Regions from separate parts of the Homo sapiens genome. Here region 1 is linked to region 2. Evidence: promoter capture Hi-C in 16 types of primary human blood cells and fetal thymus (Javierre and others, 2016). All regions are on one chromosome and are shown on one strand. Each heading gives the region's core, a stretch centred on a gene start or on the middle of the fragment in contact. The rest is flanking DNA. Distances are from core to core; before and after follow the strand shown. Region 1 overlaps CPT1A (carnitine palmitoyltransferase 1A). Region 2 holds the start of TPCN2 (two pore segment channel 2).

What was found. Contacts are between HindIII fragments. The CHiCAGO score rates a contact against its expected background, and 5 or more counts as called.
Region 1: a contact is called between a fragment that was not itself captured here and the fragment with the promoter of TPCN2 in region 2, in 1 of 17 cell types (fetal thymus). The highest score is 5.0, in fetal thymus.

Annotation. Positions count from the first base shown.
Region 1 is chr11:68,755,764-68,761,628 of GRCh38, reverse strand. It overlaps CPT1A (carnitine palmitoyltransferase 1A), which reads left to right. Exons shown (of 19, transcript NM_001876.4): 16 at 1-94; 17 at 1,291-1,404; 18 at 1,968-2,060; 19 at 3,899-5,865. The coding sequence ends at 3,985. Among named protein-coding and RNA genes, the nearest start is that of TESMIN, 7.2 kb to the right of the region's middle. The HindIII fragment of the contact is 686 bases long and covers 3,074-3,759 here.
Region 2 is chr11:69,046,817-69,053,111 of GRCh38, reverse strand. It overlaps TPCN2 (two pore segment channel 2), which reads right to left and starts at 4,180. Exons shown (of 25, transcript NM_139075.4): 1 at 4,006-4,180. The coding sequence starts at 4,114. RefSeq lists enhancers at 1-51, 1,202-1,776 and silencers at 3,753-3,852, 3,933-4,102, 4,223-4,442. The HindIII fragment of the contact is 3,554 bases long and covers 887-4,440 here.

The sequences.
Region 1 (5,865 bases), core at 2,167-4,666, 290 kb after region 2:
CCTCGCCATGACCGGCTCTGGGATCGATCGTCACCTCTTCTGCCTTTACGTGGTGTCTAAATATCTCGCTGTGGAGTCCCCTTTCCTTAAGGAAGTAAGTCTCTTCCACTTCTTCCGTCAGTTGTATTGGCTAGACCAAAACTTAGTAAATTACTACAGCCTTGCATGAACATATTTTAATGTCAGAATGGGCATTTGAAAAAAACGGGTCTGTGGGTGTAGCTGTCATAAAATGGAAAATGTGAGCAGCGCGTTTAGTACTGCATTTCTTCAAAAACTTCGCTGTCACATGTAGCCCCTGACTTAATAGACCCGAAGACCTCGAGAGCTTACGTCACAGTAAGACGCACGGAAGTAACTAGGGAGTGATGAGCTGTGAGCGCGTACCACCTTTGTTTTAAAAATCCTTTATTTTATTGTAAGTTTATGAAATATATTATTATTGTTTTTTGAGACAGGGTCTTACAGTGTTGCCCAGGCTGGGCTCAAACTCCTAGACACAAGCAATTCTTCGTCCTTAGCCTGCTGAGTAGCTGATGTGCACCACTGTGCCCAGCTCAAATTTAATTTAAGTTTTATTTATTTATTTATTTATTTTTTATTTTTTGGAGATGGAGTCTCGCTCTGTCACCCAGGCTGGAGTGCAGTGGCGCCATCTTGGCTCACTGAAACCTCCGCCTCCCGGGTTCAAGCTATTCTCCTGCCTCAGCCTCCCAAGTAGCTGGGATTACAGGCACACGCTGCCATGCCTGGCTAATTTTTTTTGTTGTTGTATTTTAGTAGAGACGGGGTTTCACCGTGTTGCCCAGGCTGGTCTCGAACTCCTGAGCTCAGGCAATCCACCCGCGTCGGGTTCCCAAAGTGCTGAGATTACAGACATGAACCATTGCGCCTGGCAAATTTAATTTTTAATAGTGGCTGTATTTAATAGCCAGCTTGAAAATTCTCTGAAAATATGGCAGCTGGCTCGTGGGAGTTGGTACAAGTCTGACACCTCTGTCCCCGTTCCGAATCTTACTCCATATATCTGTTACCTTCACTGTCTGAGATGCTATTTGCTGGTATGCCCCCACCCCCACCCTGCACTCCCTGCCCCAGTCTGGGGGCCCCACCCACCCCGCATGCTCTCTGCAGATACGCTGCCCAAGCCAGTGAGGCCTTTGGAGACATAGACTTGTGGTGTGTGGAACAATCAAAAGACCAAGCCAGGCTTTTCTCGTCTTCCCAAAGCGACTCCTGAGGGACGGTAGAGGAGGGGATTAGGAAACATTTCCCTGTTTCACTCAATAGGTTTTATCTGAGCCTTGGAGATTATCAACAAGCCAGACCCCTCAGCAGCAAGTGGAGCTGTTTGACTTGGAGAATAACCCAGAGTACGTGTCCAGCGGAGGGGGCTTTGGACCGGTGAGTGCGGCGGGGCTGGGCGAGGCGCAGTGGGGCGTGGTGATGGGATGGGTAATGGGGTGTGATGGGCCCATCTCCGTGCTGGGTGCCCCCGTTACCTTGCGGTTCTACCGCCGTAAAGGAATTACTGCTGATCATTGCTATGGATGTCCTTGGCAGTCTTGCACTTATTTTTTATTTTTTTGAGACAAGGTCTCGCTCTGTCACCCAGGCTGGAGTGCAGTAAGCATGATCATGGCTCATGGCAGCCTGAATCTCCCCCATCTCAGGTGATCCTCCCACCTCCACCTCCTGAGTAGCTGGGACTACAGATGCATGCCACCATGCCCAGCTAATTTGTGTGTGTGTGTGTATTTTTTTGTAGAGACAGGGTTTCACCATGTTGTCCGGGCTGGTCTCGAACCCCTGGGCTCAAGTGACCCGCCTGCCTCAGCCTCCCAAAATGCTGGGATTACAAGGAGAAGCCACCGAGCCCCGCCAGTGTTGCATTTAGAACATTAGAAAGTCCCTTTTTCACGTTGTCTCATTTCCCAGCAACAAATTCAAATTCCCTTGTCCTCCAGGTTGCTGATGACGGCTATGGTGTGTCGTACATCCTTGTGGGAGAGAACCTCATCAATTTCCACATTTCTTCCAAGTTCTCTTGCCCTGAGACGGTATGTATGAAAAGAAGTTCCTTTTTCTGAAGATGGGGTATTTTTGCTTTATTCTTTTTAAGGAAACACATCTTTAATTTGACAGAAAAAGTCAATTCAACTGCCTGCTTTTACTTGATTTCGGGAATTTTCACATAAATGGACTGCTTTTAAAAAAAAATTTTTTTTTTTTTGGAGACACAGTCTCACTCTGTCGCCCAGGCTGGAGTGCAGGGGCGAGATCTTGGCTCACTGTAACCTCTGCCTCCCGGGCTCAAGTGATTCTCCTGCCTCAGCCTCCCAAGTAGCTGGGACTACAGGCACCCGCCACTACCCCGGCTAATTTTTTTGTATTTTTAGTAGAGACAGGGTTTCACCATGTTGGGCAGGCTGGTCTCAAACTCCTGACCTCAGATGATCCACCTGCCTCGACCTCCCAAAGTGCTGAGATTACAGGCATGAGCCACCGCGCCTGGCCTAAATTTTTTTAATTAAAAAATTGTTTGTACAGACAGGGTCTCCCCACATTTCCCAGGCAAGTCTTGAACTCCTGGGCTCACGCGATCCTCTTACCTCAGCCTCCCAGTGTTGGGATTACAGGCTTCAGCCACTGTGCCCAGCCATAAGTGAATTTCAAAATTCTCTTTACCTAGTTTTAAACAAATGTATCTCAGCCAGGCACGGTGGCTCACACCTATAATCTCAGCACTTTGGGAGGCTGAGGCTGGCCAATCACTTGAGGTGAGGAGTTTGAAACCATCCTGGCCAACATGGTGAAACCCCGCCTCTACTAAAAATACAAAACTTAGCTGGTGTGGTGGCACACGCCTGTAATCCCAGCTACTCAGGAGGCTGAGGTAGGAGAATCGCTTGAACCCGGGAGGTGGAGGTTGTAGTGAGCCAGGATCATGCCACTGCACTCCAGCCTGGGTGATGGAGTGAGACTCCGTCTCAGAAAAAAAAAAAAAAAAAAGGAAATGTATCTAATTTGGTTTAACATGTTTACCTCTGTTGGCAGCAATGGTTTTGAAGCTTAACGTTGGAGTGCTGCTGTAACTTTCAGACTCTTTAGCACTTGGAAGATGAACTAAAAATAATGGGTACACACTAAGAAATCTGCATACAGAGCAGGGGACCCCCGGCTTCCTCTGTGGATGGAACAAGGGACCTCCTCCCTAGCATGGCACATTGCCCTTATTTATATTCTGCTTTCCTTGTCGTACATAGCCTGGCAACCCATGCCACTGTCGCTGTTAACAGAGGAAGTTGGGGTTTATTTGTTCACTGCGGTTTTCTTTTGTTGTTTGTTTGTTTGTTTGTTTTAGACAGGGTCTCACTCTGCCACCCAGGCTAGAGTGCAGTGGTGTGATCTCGGCTCACTGCAGCTTCAGCCTCCTGGGCTCAGGGGATCCTCCTACTTCAGCCTCCTGAGTAGCTGGGACTATAGGGGAGTGCCACCACACCTGGCTGATTTTTGTATTTTTTGTAGAAATGTGGTTTCACCATGTTTCCCAGGCTGGTCTTGAACTCCTGGGCTCAAGCGATTCCAAAGTGCTGGGATTACAGGCATGAGCCACCATGCTCAGGATGGTCATTGTGTTTTCCGTGGGATAAACGCATTGGCATTAGGGGAAGGCTTAGATCGACAACACACCCGCACAAACACATCAGCTGTCATCTCTTTACCCTCAGCATTTCTCTGGAATGTCTAAGTTAAGCTTTAAGACGTTGGTCAGATCTTAGAGAACTGGCAGAAAGGAATTTCAATGAAACATTGGGTCAGATTGCAAATGAAAAAGCTTGAAATGTGGGGATGGCCACGTTTTAATAGGTTTTTGGTTTTTGTTTTTACATGAAAGGATTCTCATCGCTTTGGAAGGCACCTGAAAGAAGCAATGACTGACATCATCACTTTGTTTGGTCTCAGTTCTAATTCCAAAAAGTAATTCCACTGGAGCTGCTGGGAAGGAAAACGAGCTCTTCTGATGCAAACCAAATGAAAAATAGGCATTAATCCTGACCTTAGCTCGGGATGAAACACTGCTCTTAAAAAAACTCAGTTTTCCTTCCAGAAAATGTGGGTGTTTTTTTTTCCTAGAACAGTATCTCTCCCCTGTGAAGCATAACCCCACTACTTCCAGACTTGCCCTCCCTTGGGGGACATCTGATAAAGTCTCCCCTGATGTCTCCGCATCGGCTTGGATTTATTAAGGGATGCAAATCTTGTTGAGTTAATGAAGGAATTAGTAGGGTTGTGGCTTCACACACAGTGGAATGGAAATGGTGTGCTTTCTCAGTGGCAACCGAAGGCCTAGTGCTTAAGGGCATTTAGCATCATCCAAGCAGGGTAAACTTTTGTTTTGTTAAAAGAAAAATGTGTTATTCAAGTTGGTGTCCCCAGTTGTAGCTAACACATCTGGAATGCACTAACCAAAATGCTGTGCTTTGGAGACCTGCTTTTGTCACCGTGGGTAACCGTTCCCGTCTGGTCCAGTAGCCTGTGTTTGCCTCTCCACATTTGAAGCAAGCAGGATGCAAGGTCTTCAGTTTTACTGACCTTGTATGTCTTCAAGTCTTCACAACCCAGTGCCTTAAAAATGAAAGGCCCTAAATGTAAGGGAGATGGAGAGAAAGATTTATTTTGTAGAGTCTTTGGGTGGAATTGTGGGTATACTGTTCCCTTCACAATTGACTGAGTATGGATAACCGTACATAAGCATTTGCTACACCCCACCAGCCCCCTCCCCCTCAGAAACACCAGTTCCTTCCCAAGGGCAGCTGTGCCAGACTCCCCTCCCGGGACTGCCTTCTTGTCATCATAAGCAACAAAAGAAATAACAGGCACATGTCATAAAAGGGGAGCAAGGGCCGTGATGGTCAGATAATTCACTCAAGAATAAAACATGACACGTGCCTCAGGAGGATCTCTTTCCCAAAGTGACAGCAAGGAGGGCAGGGCATCGGCCACCAAGCGGGGACTAGCAAGTGAGGAAGGGGAGGGCAGCCCACCGTGGTGAGGAGAGAGTGGCTCCACGACCCCAAGGGATGGCCTTCTCCTCCCACCCGGTGAGGGGAAAGACTCACCAGAGGGTGATGGAGACAGTATGCCGGCTCACCTTGGTGACCAGCCAAGATGTCTCAAGTGACAGTGCTAGGTGTTCACCCAGCCTGTCCTTCAGATAGGAGTGCCTTCACGAAAGCGTCTCATGGACCACAAAGCAATTATGCACTGAGTCATCTTCAGTATTTAATGCAAAAATGAAGCATCATGGAATGAAATTCCCACTGTCTGTCATGACAAGCTTAGCTGTCCATTGTTTTAAATTGTGTATTTATTTTTTTGACCACTTGGTTCTAGTTGGGCCTGACTCCTTCAGAGTGCTGCACCCCGATAGTACAACAGCGATGGCTGAACTGTTGGAGTCGATGGAAGGTGCTTGCCGGAGAACACGTGCCTTTTTTTTTTTTTTTTTTTTTGAGATGGAGTTTCACTCTTGTTGCCCAGGCTGGAGTGCAGTGGTGCAATCTCGGCTCACTGCAGCATCTGCCTTGCAGGTTCAAGCGATTCTCCTGTCTCAGCCTCCCAAGTAGCTGGGATTACACGCCCAACACCATGCCCTGCTAATTTTTGTATTTTTAGTAGAGACGGGGTTTCATCATATTGGTCAGGCTGGTCTCGAACTCCTGACCTCAGGTGATCCACCTGCCTCAGCCTCCCAAAGTGCTGGGATTACAGGCATGAGCCACCATGCGCGGCCCACATGCATGTTTTATGTATGTATACTTCATGATGTAAAAATCCCACCTTTATGGGCCAAAGATTTTT
Region 2 (6,295 bases), core at 2,931-5,430:
CAAGCCCCTCACCTGCCACAGAGCAGCCAGCGGGCGCACCTGGTCAGCCACTGAGCCACTGCAGGGAGCCTGGGCCACCCACCCGCATCGTAGGCACGGGCCACCTCTGGCCTCGCTGCAGAGCTGCTCCCCAGCAGGCCAACAGGGAAGGAAAACTCAACCCGAAGCAACTGAGGAGCCCGGAGAGGCTGACACTTCCCAGCACGGGGAGAGGGTGAAGCAGCTGCTTTTTCAGTTGAGACTCGGCTTTCACACCTGGCCCCTTGGGGCCCACAGCTGCACCAAGACAATGTGGTGACATGGGAGGCAGCAGCAGAGGCCTCAGGAGGTGCTGGTCCCCAGGCAGAGCTCCAGGCCATGACCCGCCCACGCCACTGGCCATCCTTAGGGAGGCAGCTGCCCCTGTCCTCGGGGCTCCTGCTTGGGGGCATGAGGTATAGGCAGCTGGGCCCTGGACGGATTAGAGGTGTGAGGGGCCCCAGACAGAGGCAGGAGACCGGACCCCACCCTCACTCTGCCCGGCCCTGCTGCACTGCCGGGAGCAAGAGCCTTCCCTCCCTGTGGCTTTGGTGCCCACATGCACAGCCACGAGACCCACCCTGAGGACACCCGAATGTCTCCCCAGGGAAGCTCTGAAAGTGGCTACTGTTTATGTCCCCTGAGCACATCCTGGGATCGCTATGAACAGAAGCCACACTGTTTTGTTCCCTGCTGTATCTGCAGAGCCCAGAAGTCAAGCACACAGGACTCAAAGCTGATATATCCCATGAATAAATGAACAGCCCTGAGGGGAGCCTGGGGGGCCGGTGATCTGAGAGGCCCCACCTTACCAGATTCCCTGGGAGAAGACAAAATCTCTACCAGGAGAGATCTAGTGATACAAGCTTCTTAGACAAGAGACAAGCGGCCGAGTTCCGGGCCTCACTCCAGCCCCAGGACCACGGAAAGTACTCACATCCACCCAGGCCAGCCATCCCAGGCCAACAGTGGTGGGCACCCCTGGAACCATCCAGCACTCGTGGTTCCCTTTCGCCTGGCTTTTTGGTTGCTGGTTTGTAAAATTCTGGGTCTGGCCATCCTCCGTTTCACCCTGCAACAGCCCAAGGATCTCGTTCCAAACACTCAGAAGCACATCGCAGCTTCCCCTGGGCCCCCACTATTCCAGGCCCACACTCCACCCTGGTCTGGCACTGCAGGTTCCCACATTTGCCGGCCCGCCTCTCTCCTGCCTTTCAACCCTCAGTGCCACTCATTCCGAACTGGGCTCTGCCAAGGCCATGCTCTCCAAAGCCTCCAACCCTTTACTCAGGCTGCTGCTTCTGCCAGGAGCACCATCCCCCAATTTGTGAGTCCAGGGACTCCCTTGGGACAGCTCGCCCCGCCCTGAGCTCATCACCCTGGGGGACAATCACCTTTCCACACACCATCACCCACTGGGGCTGAAGGGTTCTGCAAGGCACAGAGGACAGCAGGGGCTGAGATGCTGCATCCGGCACACCAGGCCTCGACACGGCTTCCTAATCCAAGCCTCTGCCCCGCAACATCCAGGTCTGAGCTCCCGCTCCCCTGTTGCTCCAGGCTCCAGGCTGCACAACCTGTGTAGGGTCCTGACCATCATCCTCTGTGACCCTGGGCAAGTCCCTTAACCTCTAGGTGCTCCAGGTCCTCATGGACCCCCACCCAATAGGAGCTAAGTACAGACTGAATGACTTACTATAGCCAGAGTACTTTGCTAAGTGAGCCCTTCATAAGCATTCAGTTACTCTGAAAGCCTCTACAGCATCGCAATCCCTTGTCCTCTGACTTGTTTGATAACCAGTAAAAGTGTGATTTTTCTGACCCAGCAACAAGAGAAAACAACTGTTCTCAACCTTTGACCCCGGCCCCATCAGGTGGGGCCAAGTCAAAACGACCCAACAGCAGGGTCCACTGGGGTCCTTGGGGCACCCACAGCAGCAGCCCTCACCACAACCCGTTGGCAAGAGACCAACCACAGGACTTGCAAACCAGAGCACAGGGCCTTCATTTCAAAGCCTGGCACAGGCCTCAGCACAGAGACTGAATGAGCCTTTCGGAGTCTCCATGGCTCCATAGTCTGCCAGTCCTTGCTGGGGACCCTGGCCAAGGGGATTCAGAACACAGAGCGTCCTGTCCACGTTCTCAGAAGCCCTGGCTGAGGCCACAGCATAGGGACAAAGAGCGCTCCCCGAGAGCCTCCTCTTGTCAGCCACACTGCCCAGCAGAGCGGGTCTCACCTGCCAGGGAGGACCTGCAATGATCACAGAGCTTACCCAGGACGGCCACTGGCCCCCACACCAGCCCGCCGGGCCCTGTGCTGAGGACAAACTCTGGATTCTCTCTGAATCCTCACAATGCCCGCCAGGCAGTCCTTAGTATTATCTCCCTTTTACTGAGATTCGGAAAGGTGAAGCATGGCCAGGCACAGTGGCTCACGCCTGTAATCCCACCACTTTGGGAGGCCGAGGCAGGCAGATCACCCGAGGTCAGGAGTTTGAGACCACCCTGGCCAACACAGTGAAACCCCATCTCTACTAAAAATACAAAAATTAGCCAAGTGTGGTGGCGGGCGCCTGCAGTCCCAGCTACTTGGGAGGCTGAGGCGGGAGAATCGCTTCAACCCAGCAGAGGTAGAGGCTGCAGTGAGCCGAGATCACGCCACTGCACTCCAGCCTGGGTGACAGAGTGATACTCCATCTCAAAAAAGAAACAGAAAGGTTAAGCAACCTGCCAAGGTCACACAGCCAGTGCAGCCCCAGAAAGGCGCCCAGACCCCTAGACACAAAGTCTGTGTTCCCTGAACGGTGCCATATGCTGGGCGTCTCATCAAGGGGCCTGCCAGAGCTGCTCCCTGCAGATCTCCTTCCTGACTGGTCCCAGGAAGCACCTGAAGAACTTCCTGGAGGCAGCTTCTGAGGTGAGCAGACAGGGTGGCCACCTTGGCCTCTGGTTTTTCATCTCTCGTCAGGGTCCCCTCCTTGGCCCCTCATTACTCCATGGATGGGCACATGCCACAGACCAGTGGGTGGGCACCAGGATTCCAACCCAGTTCCTTCCAGACAGAGGAGGAAAGAAGGAAAGAGAGGCCAGAGAGGGAAGGAGCCAGGTGTGAATTCTCAGAGTGGTTCGAGCAGCAGCCGCACCAGAACAGAGGGCTGTGACCTTGGGCAGGTCTCAGGGCCTCTCTGGGCCTCAGTTTCCTCATCTGTGAAGTGAAGCTAAGGTCCTTCCACCTCTTAATCCAGAATCTCATTCCCCTGGTGTCAGCGAGGGGCGGACGCACCCCACCCTCGGGGGGCGGATTCAGCAATCTTCAGACCAGGACAAAAAACGGGAAGGGCAGGAGGGAGTGCAGAGGGGACTCTGGGGTGGCAGAGGGCAAGGAGAGGAAGCCGCCCCCGTCTAGGGGGCCCGCCCCAGCCCCACGGGAAGTGGGACGGGGAAAGGCACCCTACAAAGAAAGGACTCCTAGCTCCCAACTGGTTCGAATCCCACCTCGGCCACTTACTGGGTGTGTGACCTTGGGTAGGGTAACGCCTCTCTGTGAGCCTCTGCTTTTTCCAGAAGAAACGGGAAAAATCAAAGTGCTGCCTTCTCTGAGTCAATTAGGCGACCCTCATTACGGCGACAGTCGGGAAGTATGGGGTCTGGGCCCGCCCGGGCACACGGAGGGTGCCTGCCGCAGGTGGCCGGTTCCCTCGGGGCTGCCCAAGGCTGGGCGAGGGCCTCTTCGCCCAGCTGGTCGGGATCAGGACGCGACACGGAAGAGACCCCAGCTCTGCCCTGACCCCGGTCCGGGTCCGCAGGACGCAGCCCACTCGCCCTCAGAACACCGGCTCGCCTGGCACCCGGCGCGGCCCGGGCCCCGCTCGGACTCGAACCTGGTGGGGGCGCGCCCGGCAGAAAGCGGGGTGCTGGGACAGCGGGACCCCCACGCGCGACCCTGGTCTCCCGGGCCAGTCCCCTCCCCAGGTCCGGGCGGCTCACCAGGGCCGACTTGGATGCTGCGGTAAGTGGTCAGCCCCGCCGGCCAGTCGCCGCCACCGCCGCGGGCCCCGCCCAGCAGGGGCTCCGACTCCGCCTGGGGTTCCGCCATCCAGCAGCCCACGCGCTGGACCCGACCCTCAGAAGCTCAAGCCCCGAAGGCGCCCAGCTTCACTGCGCAGGCGCGGAGACCCCGTCCCTGGCGTTTTTGCTGACGCGCGCACGGCACTGTGGCGCAGGGGATCCCTGCAGTCCCAGCCAATGAGAACGGGGAGGGAGGGGTGGGGTTCTCCTGAGTGGGGCGGAGCTAAAGGGCCCCGCCCCTCTAGGGTGGAGCTCAGCTTCGTTCCACCCAGGGCGGGGCAGCGTTCTGGGGCTTAAGGGCCGAGGGCTGGGGAGGAAATATGTTCTCAAAGGATGTCTTTCCGGCCAGAAGCTTCAGCATCACCTGGAAACATTTTAGAAATGCAAATTCTTGGGCCCTTAAACCTACTAAATCAGCAACTCTGCGGGGAGGACCCAGGAATCTGTGTTTTAACAAGCATTCGGGGTGATTCTGATGCATGTGAGTATTGAGTACACGGGGTGACTGCAAAGGACTCCCCCCAGAATGGAACTGGAGTTTACCCTCTGATGGTGAAATTAGGAGGATTCAATATCATTAAGGGAAAAGTTTAAAAACATATGACACACTTAAAAAATATTTACAACGTATATAAAAAGTGTTTTCAACATTAATGCATAAAGACCTTGTATTCGTTTTCTATTGCTACAGTGACTAATTACCACAATCTGAAAATATAAAATAACTCCCATTCATCATCTTTCAGTCCTGCGGGGCAGGAAACCTCCTGTCTCAGGGCCTCACGAGGCTAGAGTCAAAATGTCAGCTGCCGTGGGCTCTTATCTGCAGACTCTGGGGAAAGCCCACTTCCAGGCTCATCCAGGATGTTAACAGAATTGTCTCCATGGGCCTAGGACTGAAGTCCACGTCTTCTTGCTGGATGTTGGCTGGTGTCATTCTCACTCCTAGAGGCCACTGCATTCCTTCCACGATGGCTTGAACACCTCCATCATCAGAGCCAGCAAGCAAGAGCACGCTGAAGACGCTTCGAGATGCAGCAAGACGCCTGTAATCCCAGCCCTTTGGGAGACCGAGGCAGGTGGATCACGAGGTCAGGAGATCGAGACCATCCTGGCCAACATGGTGAAGCCCCGTCTCTACTGAAATACAAAAAGTTAGCCAGACGTGGTGGCACGTGTCTATAGTCCCAGCTACTCGGAGGCTGAGGCAGGGGAATCGCTTGAACCCGGGAGGCGGAAATTGCAGTGAGCTGAGATTGCGCCACTGCACTCCAGCCTGGCAACAGAGCGAGACTCCATCTCAAAAAAAAAGGTGCTGCAAGACGCTTCCAATCTCTGTGACTTCCCCTTCTGCCATACCTCTTTACTTTTTCCCCCTCTTTTGGGGAGGGGGGAGGGTTTAAAATAAATATAAAATTTACCATCATAACTGTGAAAGGAAAATAAATCTCAGGACTCCAAAATCACTAAGCCAAAGGGAAAAGTCAAGCTGGGAACTGCGTTGGGCAAACTGCCTCGCCTTTTCTTCTTTAATAAAATAGCTACGAAGATTTAAAAAGCTACATACCTCCCTCACAATTTGCCCGCTAGGAAATTTTTCGTGGGCACCCAAGATCTTTACCCTAAAACAGTTTTGTTGAATTTTACCCTAACAATGTACATTGACAACTGATCTTCACAGGTTCCAAACAAAGGATGGAACTCTAAGTCATCCCTCTGCTCACCTGATTGCTTCCTCTGGTATAAAAGTGCAGATTCACCGAGCCAGACTAAGGCATAAGTGACTATTCCTCTACCCCCGCAACCTGTAAATTGTGTATTTCAGTGAAAGTCTGATCAAAGACTCACAAGAATGCAACCTTTGTCTCTTATCTCTCCACATATTTTTAAAATTTCTCCCTCTTTCCCAATATCCACCCTTTCCCTTTTTTTTTTTTTTTTTTTTTTTTGAGACAGAGTCTTGCTTCGTTGCCCAGGCTAGAGTGCAGTGGTGCGATCTCAGGTCACTCAGCAACCTCCGCCACAGCACCTGGCCAGTTTCCCCTTTAAATATTGAAGTCCTACAAATCATCCTTGAAGGAAGGCATAGACCTGCCTCCCAGGCACTCCTTAACCTTGGCAAAATAAACTTACTAAATAGATCGAGACCTGTCTCAGATATTTTTAGTTCACATAACTATATTGAAGTGTACAGCTCATTGATATTAAA